Regions from separate parts of the Homo sapiens genome. Here region 2 is linked to region 1. Evidence: promoter capture Hi-C in human tissues and cell types (Jung and others, 2019). All regions are on one chromosome and are shown on one strand. Each heading gives the region's core, a stretch centred on a gene start or on the middle of the fragment in contact. The rest is flanking DNA. Distances are from core to core; before and after follow the strand shown.

Region 1 (4,052 bases), core at 24-2,523:
TCAGCCTGGGCGACAGAGCGAGACGAGTGAGGATCACTTAAGGTCGGGAGTTCGAGGCCAGCCTTGATATCATGGTGAGACCCCGCATCTATTTAAAAACAAAACAAAACAAAACAAAACAAAAGCTGTAATCCCAGCACTTTGGGAGGCAGGCCGAGGTGGGCAGATCACAAGGTCAGGAGTTCAAGACAAGCCTAGCCAACAAGGTGAAACTGTCTCTACTGAAGATTAGCTGGGTGTGGTGGTGGACGCCTGTAGTCTCAGCTACTCGGGAGGCTGAGGCAGGAGAATCGCTTGAACCCGGGAGGCGGAAGTTGCAGTGAGCCGAGATCGCGCCATTGCACTCCAGCCTGGGCGACAGGGCGAGACTCCGTCTCAAATAAAAAAATAAAAAAAATAAATAAAAAGGCCGGGCGCGTTGGCCCGCGCCTGCAGCCCCTGCTACTTGGGAGGCTGAGGCTGGAGCATCGCTTGATCCTGGGAGGTCGAGGCTGCAAAGAGTCGAGATCGCAACACTGCTCTCCAGCCTGGGCGACAGAGCGAGGTCCCATCTCTTAAAAAAAAGAACTGTGCTCAAGGACATCTGCCGTGTCTGGGGCGCAAAACCCCTCCTGGTCCCCTCTCTCAGGGCAGTCCGCGAGCCCAGCGGATCCCACTCGTCTTTGCAGCGCGGACAGGGAATCGGCTGAGTTGATCCCATGCCAACAAGCCCGAGTAGTCCGGGCAAGGCGCTCGGCGGGGCAGTCAACGCTCCCTCCGCCATGGGCTCCCCTCTTGGGAAAAGCTTTTCCAAACCGCCGGGCCCAGGGCCCAGAGCTCCCGCCGCGCCCTCGACGTGGCGTCGAGTCTGGCCCCTTCCCCCGCGGCGCACGGGCTTCACCCAGGAGGGACGCGCCTGGATCCACGCCTTCCTCACTGACTCCCCGGGCTCCAGGGCAGGGTGCAGGTCCACAGCCAGGGCTTCGCTGCGGCCCCTGAGACCCCAGTGCCTTTCCTGCGCTCTCGCGGCACTCGCAAAGTTGAGTCAGCCACGACGCCCACAGACAACCCCGAGGCGCCGCGCCCAGGGCGCAGCTCTCCGGGTGACGAGCGCCTCAAGGGGCGCGGGTTCGGGGCCCGCGACGGGGCGGGGCGCGTCTCCAGGGCTCCAGTGCTCGGCCTCAGGCGGGGCTAGAAGGGCCGCGGGACGGGGTGGGAGTGGAGGGGCGGGGAAGGGCGGGGACAGGGGCGGGGCCGCACGTCCTCTCGGGCCAGCCTCAGCCGCCGCGCCTCAGTCCGCCGTCCGCCCTCCGCGCCCGCGCCGCTAGCATGACCGACGCGCTGTTGCCCGCGGCCCCCCAGCCGCTGGAGAAGGAGAACGACGGCTACTTTCGGAAGGTGGGCGGCTTCGGGCGGGCGGGCGGGGACCTGCGGGCTCCAGACCTCCTTTCCCCCGGGCCCTGCAGGGGCCGTGGGAGCGCGCAGTCGGGGTCCACTAGGCCGGGAGGGGGAGGGGGCGCACTGGGCCGGCGCTGGCCGGACGGAGGCTGGCGGGGAGGAGTGGGGGCGGCGATGTCCCCGGCGTCCCGGGCAGGTGGCATCCGGGACTGGGCGGGGAGTAGGGGAGGCGCATGTGGCCGCTCCGCGCAGGTGCGGGCGGAGGACCTGGAGGGGTGCTTGGGTCTCCCCCCTCCCACCCCCCGCCACCCCTCGCTTGCGATCCCTGGTGCCTGGGGAAAGGACCCGTTCCTGGCTGCGCTGGCGCCCTTGGCCTCTGGGCGCGTTGCAAGAGCGCTTGGTGGGAGCGCGGGTGGAGACAGACCATCCCAGGCGTGTTGGCGGTCTCATATTTATTTTAGGCGCTCTGTCGCCCAGGCTGGAGTAGAGTGGCGCGATTATAGCTCACTGCAGCCTCGACTTCCTGGCCTCCAGCGATCCTCCCGCCCCAGCCTCCCGAGTAACTGGGACTGCAGGCGCGCCACCTCGCCACGCTAATTTTTTGTAGAACTGGGGTATCGCTGTGTTGCCCAGACTGGTCGCGAACTCTTGGGCTCAAGGGATCCTCCCGCCCCGGTCTCTCAAAGTGCTGGGATTACAGGCGTGAGCCACTGCGCCCGGCCGGCGGTCTCTTTTTGCCTCCAAAATGCTTCCAAAGTCCGCCTGTGGGACTTTTCAGGGAGCAGGGGAGAGCTGCTGGTGGGAGGGAGCCTCCGGCGTTGCACCCTCCTCCGCTCCGGGTCGTCCAGGAGGGCGTGAGCACCGCAGGTGAGGCCCACGGTCTTGTGCGTCTCACTGTGTGCCAAAGCGGATTTGTCTTGTTGTCCGGGAGACTTGGCGGGGGCTGGCGGCGGGCGGCGGGCGGCGGGCGGCGGGTGGCGGGTGCCGGCCTCGCAGGTTCTTGGCATGTCCAGGAGCTCTTGGGCCCAGAAGATAACAGTCAGGGAGCTCAGTCCCTCAAAAGCGACCCCAGCCTGTGGAGCAGGGGCCCTGGGATACCCGCAGGCGGCAGGGCCTGGGCTACAAAGATGCTTTGGAGCCGGGAGTCATGGTGATGCCTTCCAAGCCTTCCTCCCTCTAGGTCCTGAGCAAGTCTAAAAATAGCTTTTGGCCCTTGGCCAGGGATCACTGAGAGGGTGGAGAGATTGTTGTTGATTTTCGTTTTTATAATAGATACGACAGTGCATAATTATAAATAGGGAAGTGAAACTTTCCCATAAACGAATCAATTCTTAATTGTTCAAAGCCTTAGGATCCAGTTCTTAAATGGTCTTGGCATCTTCCTCCTTCTCCCAGGTGACACAGAGAGACTGTGGGCTTTGCTCACTGGTGAGGAGCCCTGGGCAGGACAGTGTGGGGCAGAGTGGGAAAACTTCTTTTTTGTGAAGTTGCTTTTAGCATTAAAAAAAAAAAAAGTAGTTTTGAGGTATATTTAAGTTTAAAGATGTCATCATGGAATTACAGGATTATAACTTCTAATTATGTGTGGCGTTTGGGACAGAGGATCACAGGCCATGGAATTGCAGGAGGAGGCCTGGCCTGGGAATTCCTATGTCTGTCCTCGGGCCCCGGGGCCTGACTGCCACTCCCACAAAATTGCTGTGTGGCCTCCCGCAAGTTGCTGCCTCTTTCTGGGACATTTCCTCCCCAGATTGTTCTCTGAGCAGGTGTAGCTCTGGAACTCCAGCAGCACCTGGGGGAAAATGGCAGCAAGAGAAGCACACCTGTGAGGGGTGGTCCCAAGCCTCCCAGAACACATTTTCCTGTGGGAGCCCTCCGTGTCTGTGAGCCCAGGGGAGGACTTCTTGCTCCGCACTGGGAAAGAGTGGATGGCAAGAGAGCTAGGAAAGGTGCACAGTTGGGTGTTTTTCATTTATTAATTATTATTATTATTATTATTATTATTATTATTATTATGAAACAGAGTCTCACTCTGTCGCTCAGGCTGGAGTGCAGTGGTGTGATTTCGGCTCACTGCAACCTCTGCCTCCGGGGTTCAAGCAGTTCTGCCTCAGCCTCCGAAGTAGCTGGGATTACAGGCGCCTGCCACCACACCTGGCTAATTTTTTGTATTTTTAGTAGAAACGGGGTTTCACCGTGTTGCCCAGGCTAGTCTTGAACTCCTGACCTTAAGTGATCCACCTGCCATGGCCTTCCAAAGTGCTGGGATTACAGGTGTAAGCCACTGCGCCCGGCTACAGGTGTTTTTTTTTTTTTCCCCCTGAGATGGAGTCTCGCTCTGTCACCCAGGCTGGAGTGCAGTGGCGCGATCTCGGCTCACTGCAACCTCCATCTACCAGTTTCAAGTGATTCTCCCGCCTCAGCCTTCCCAGTAGCTGAGACTACAGGCGCATATCAACCACGCCTGGCTAACTTTTGTATTTTTAGTAGAGGCAAGGTTTTGCCATGTTGGCCAGGCTGGTCTTGAACTCCTGACCTCAGGTGATCCACCCACCTCGGCCTCCTAAAGTGGGGTGTTTTTTAGATGCAGTTTCTCTGGTGTTGGATGAGAGAATCAGGGGTGCAAAATAAGAGGAATCATTGTTTTACAATTAAAATCATCAATTTTGAAAATG
Region 2 (4,079 bases), core at 957-3,456, 47 kb before region 1:
AGAATGTCAGCGTGCCTACTAGGGGCCTGGCACTGTGTAGGGTCCTGGGGAGGTAGGTGGCAGAGGCAGAGACAGAGCCCCAACCCCAAAGAGTAAACATCTGGACCATTACAACATGAGCTAAGTTATTAGTAAGAGTAATTCCCTCAATGGAGGGAGAATATGCACCATTCACATTGTTAGGACTAAACTACCCTTTAATTCTGTCTTCCTACAGGCTAGGGGTTGAGGCCCTGGTCAATCAGAGACCCCGGGGACGCCCTACTCACTGTCGGGACCTCGGTGCTGTGATACTTTTTCACTTGATGCTTGAGTGGTGGGCAAGGAAGCTGTCTCTGGGAGCGTCAGAAAGTTGAAGACTGAGTACTTGTCACGCTTCACTCTTGGTAAGCCAACTAAAGTTGAACTGGGAATTGAAAAAAGAATCATTTTAGTAACAACCAGTAGGACAAAATCCACCTCCTGAAAAGCTTTCCATCTCAAGTTTTCCACCTCTTCTGCATGACTAAAAAGTCTCCTAAGATGCTTTCACTTCTCAAAGCAGTTCGAGAATCTGGGTGACTGATTTTAGGTCCCATGAGATTTTCCTTATTATGATAAGGACAAGAATTTAACTTTCAAAATGGATTTCCATTAAGGAAAAGCTCCACTGATAAAAATATACCTAAAGTTTCTGACAGTCTCTGGTTTGACCACATATGCTATCTTTTTGTTTTGTTTTTTTTTCTCTTGAGATTGAGTCTCGCCTTGTCACCCAGGCTAGAGTGCAATGGCACAATCTTGGCTCACTGCAACCTCCGCCTCCCAGGTTCAAGCAATTCTCCTGCATCAGCCTCCCAAATAGCTGGGACTATAGGCACGCACCACCACGCCCAGCTAATTTTTTGTATTTTTAGTAGAGACGGGGTTTCACCATGTTGGTCAGGCTGGTCTTGAACTCCTGACCTCAAGTGATCTGCCTGCCTCAGTCTCCCAAAATACAGGGATTACAGGCGTGAGCCATTGCACCCGGCCTACTATCTTGAAGTGTTCTGTTTGTTTGTTTGTTTGTTTGATTTTTTAGAGATGGGGTCTTACTATGTTACCCGGGCTGGCCTCGAACTCCTGGGCTCAAGCGATCCTCCTGCCTTGGCCTCCCAAGCTAGGATTACAAGTGTGCACCACCACACCCCACCTCTTGAAGTGTTATTAATCAAATAAGAAAGTGTTTAACTTTTATAATGATAATTTAAAAACATAAGTAACATTATAAATGTAAACCACATGAGCAGCAACAAGAAGGTGGCAAATGAGAGAGGCATAATGCTTTTGTAACTTGACATATCTGAGTTTCATAGCTTCAATATGGAATAAAGTTTGCTATCCAGATTTTGTTTTAGTAACAAATTATAGAAGTAATTTATCAAAGCAAATCTATAAAATGTGTAGATTTGTATATCCAGTGATATGCAAATAAGTTCATGTAGAAAAAATAAGAATTTATATGAGTATGTAAGGGGAAAATTAGCTTTAATATCAAGAATACATTTTGTACTGATGTAAAGGTTTATCCAACTTACTCTGGATAAGGGTCAGGGACATTAAATCTCTTACATAGAAGCTTGTCAGGGTGCCACTCAAACGTGTCTCGGGTGAGCTTCCCAAACATCTTCATCTTCACAGCCGACTGCTTATCCCCGACATCATTCTGGAAAAAGACATGCATTCTGTTCCATCAAGTGGCCGCACCACTGACCTGACTGCTCTCCCATTTAAAATTTTCAAGCAATCTTCTAGAACTGTGAAAAAAGTTTGTGCTATAACATTTATGCTCCAGTACATTGGAAACTAAGGCATAAAATGGTTTCCTATTCTCCTATACATGTATATTTTGATCTTCTCACCAAGGGATTAAAAATATTTGGCTCGGCCGGGCATGGTGGCTCATGCCTGTAATCCTAGTACTTTGAGAGGCCGAGGCGGGTGGATCACCTGAGGTCAGGAGTTCAAGACCAGCCTGGCCAATATGGTGAAACCCCATCTCTACTAAAAATACAAAAATTAGATGGCTGTTGTGGCGAGCGCCTGTAATCCCAGCTACTTGGAAGGCTGAGGCAGGAGAATCGCTTGAACCCAGGAAGCGGAGGCTGCAGTGAGCCGAGATCACACCACTGCACTCTAGCCTGGGCGACAGAGAGAGACTCCGTCTCAAAAAAAAGGAAAAAACTATTTTGGCTAGGCAGTGCTTTAATATTAAAGTTCACCAGGTAAGGGACATGGTGACAACAGACCTCTTGGTCTCGAGGGACTTCAACCTGATCTGAGTCATCCTCCTCCTTGGCGTGAGTGAACCTGGAGGACAAGGTCGAATGGGAAGATGCGTACAGCAGGGCCGCCCGGGCAAACTCATCCCGCTCACGGCCTCGCTCCCACTCTGTCATGCTGGGGTCCAGACAGCGTTCCAGAGCATCTGCGGGGGCAGAGAACAAGAAGCAGCTTCACTTTTCAGGAAAACATGGGGCTTACAAGAGAACATCTGCTGGGCACCACTGTATCCCTGTATATTTCATAAGTCCTTATCCTTGTTTTTATGACTATGGGAATGGTGAGGTATTTGGCAGGTAATATTGCTGTTTCCTTCAAAATTGTGCTTTTTTAAAAAAAATTTAGGCCAGGCGCAGTTGTTCATGCCTGTAATCCCAGCACTTTGGGAGGCCGAGGCGGGTGGGTCACTTGAGGTCAGGAGTTCGGGACCAGCCTGGCAAACATGGTGAAACCCCATCTCTCTTTTTTTTTTTTTTTTTTTTTCTGAGATGGAGTCTCACTCTGTCTCCCAGGCTGGAGTGCAGTGGCATGATCTCTGCTTACTGCAAGCTCCGCCTCCCACGTTCACACCATTCTCCTGCCTCAGTCTCCCGAGTAGCTGGGACTACAGGCGTCCGCCACCATGCCCGGCTAATTTTTTGTATTTTTAGTAGAGACGGGAAACAAAAAATTACCAGGCGTGGTGGCACATACCTATAGTCCCAGCTGCTCAGAAGGCTGAGGCAGGATAATCACTTGAACCTGGGAGGTGGAGGTTGCAGTGAGCTGAGATTGCAGTGAGCCAAGATCCTGACACTGCACTCCAGCCTGGGCAACAGAGCAAGACTCCGTTCAAAAAAATAAATAAAATATGATGTGTGTATATATATATATAATATATTTTATATATACATATATATCTTTTTTTTTTTGGTAGAGGCAGGATCTCACTATGTTGCCCAGGCTGGTCTTGAACTCCTAGGCTAAAGCGATCCTCATCTCAGCCTCCCAAAGTACTTGGATTACAGGCATGAGCCACCATCCCCAGCCAAAATGATGCTTTTATTGAATTCTGTCTACCAAACATAACAGAGAAAACCATTTGAGAGGCTAATGGTTGGTTAAATCTTCAGCAGTAAGGAACTTGTCACCACTCCCAGGCAGTGATAAGTTCACCTCAACCACATCCCTATGTTTTGGCAGAAAAACACTCTTTCACTAACCGTTTTTTTTTTTTAAAGCAAATAAACATTAGTGATGTAGGTTCTTAGTAGAGAGTTAAGGCACAGTAAATAGACTTTACATTCCGCAAAGATCTGTTTTTAAAAAACAACCCTGTAATTTACTGATAACCTCTCACGAGGACTACTGCATACAACAGCAACCCCTTTCCTCATTCTTGCCTCATTCTTGCCCTATTTACTTCACAGATCACAAAGTGATTGTTTTCCCTCTGTAACGGTTCAATAGCTAACTATTGTTTTAAGTCATATTTTAGACTATGAGTCAGGAATGGATGGTTAGGATCTTCGGATGAGGTGGAAGATGATGCTGATATGAAATGTGAATGCAATGCTTGTAGCAGTCAAGCACTTGCAAACACCAAACGGCCTGTAAGTACCGGCCACCGCCAGCTGTGTTCTCTACTTAAACAGCTAGCTTTGGCCTGAGATATGGAGGAACATAAGCCAACTGTTCTTGCTTTCTGAGGTCAAGAGCCAAGGCCTGAAACCTTTGCACTATTTGCAGCAGGATAAAGCAAAAACACTGACAGAACAGGATACCTCAACTGTAAA

Evidence for each region. The method cuts DNA at HindIII sites, captures the fragments that hold promoters and counts their contacts. A contact is called where the count stands out against the background at its distance.
Region 2: a contact is called between a fragment that was not itself captured here and the fragment with the promoter of RHPN2 in region 1, in 4 of the 25 tissues and cell types used here (H1 embryonic stem cells, pancreas, spleen and 1 more).

What each region holds. Positions count from the first base shown.
Region 1 is chr19:33,062,109-33,066,160 of GRCh38, reverse strand. It overlaps RHPN2 (rhophilin Rho GTPase binding protein 2), which reads left to right and starts at 1,273. Exons shown (of 15, transcript NM_033103.5): 1 at 1,273-1,377. The coding sequence starts at 1,309. RefSeq lists enhancers at 239-738, 1,951-2,579 and silencers at 886-1,385, 1,446-1,665. The HindIII fragment of the contact is 19,604 bases long and covers 1-4,052 here.
Region 2 is chr19:33,110,094-33,114,172 of GRCh38, reverse strand. GPATCH1 (G-patch domain containing 1) reads right to left here. Exons shown (of 20, transcript NM_018025.3): 12 at 2,271-2,449; 13 at 1,560-1,687; 14 at 270-406. Among named protein-coding and RNA genes, the nearest start is that of WDR88, 20 kb to the left of the region's middle. The HindIII fragment of the contact is 5,908 bases long and covers 1-4,079 here.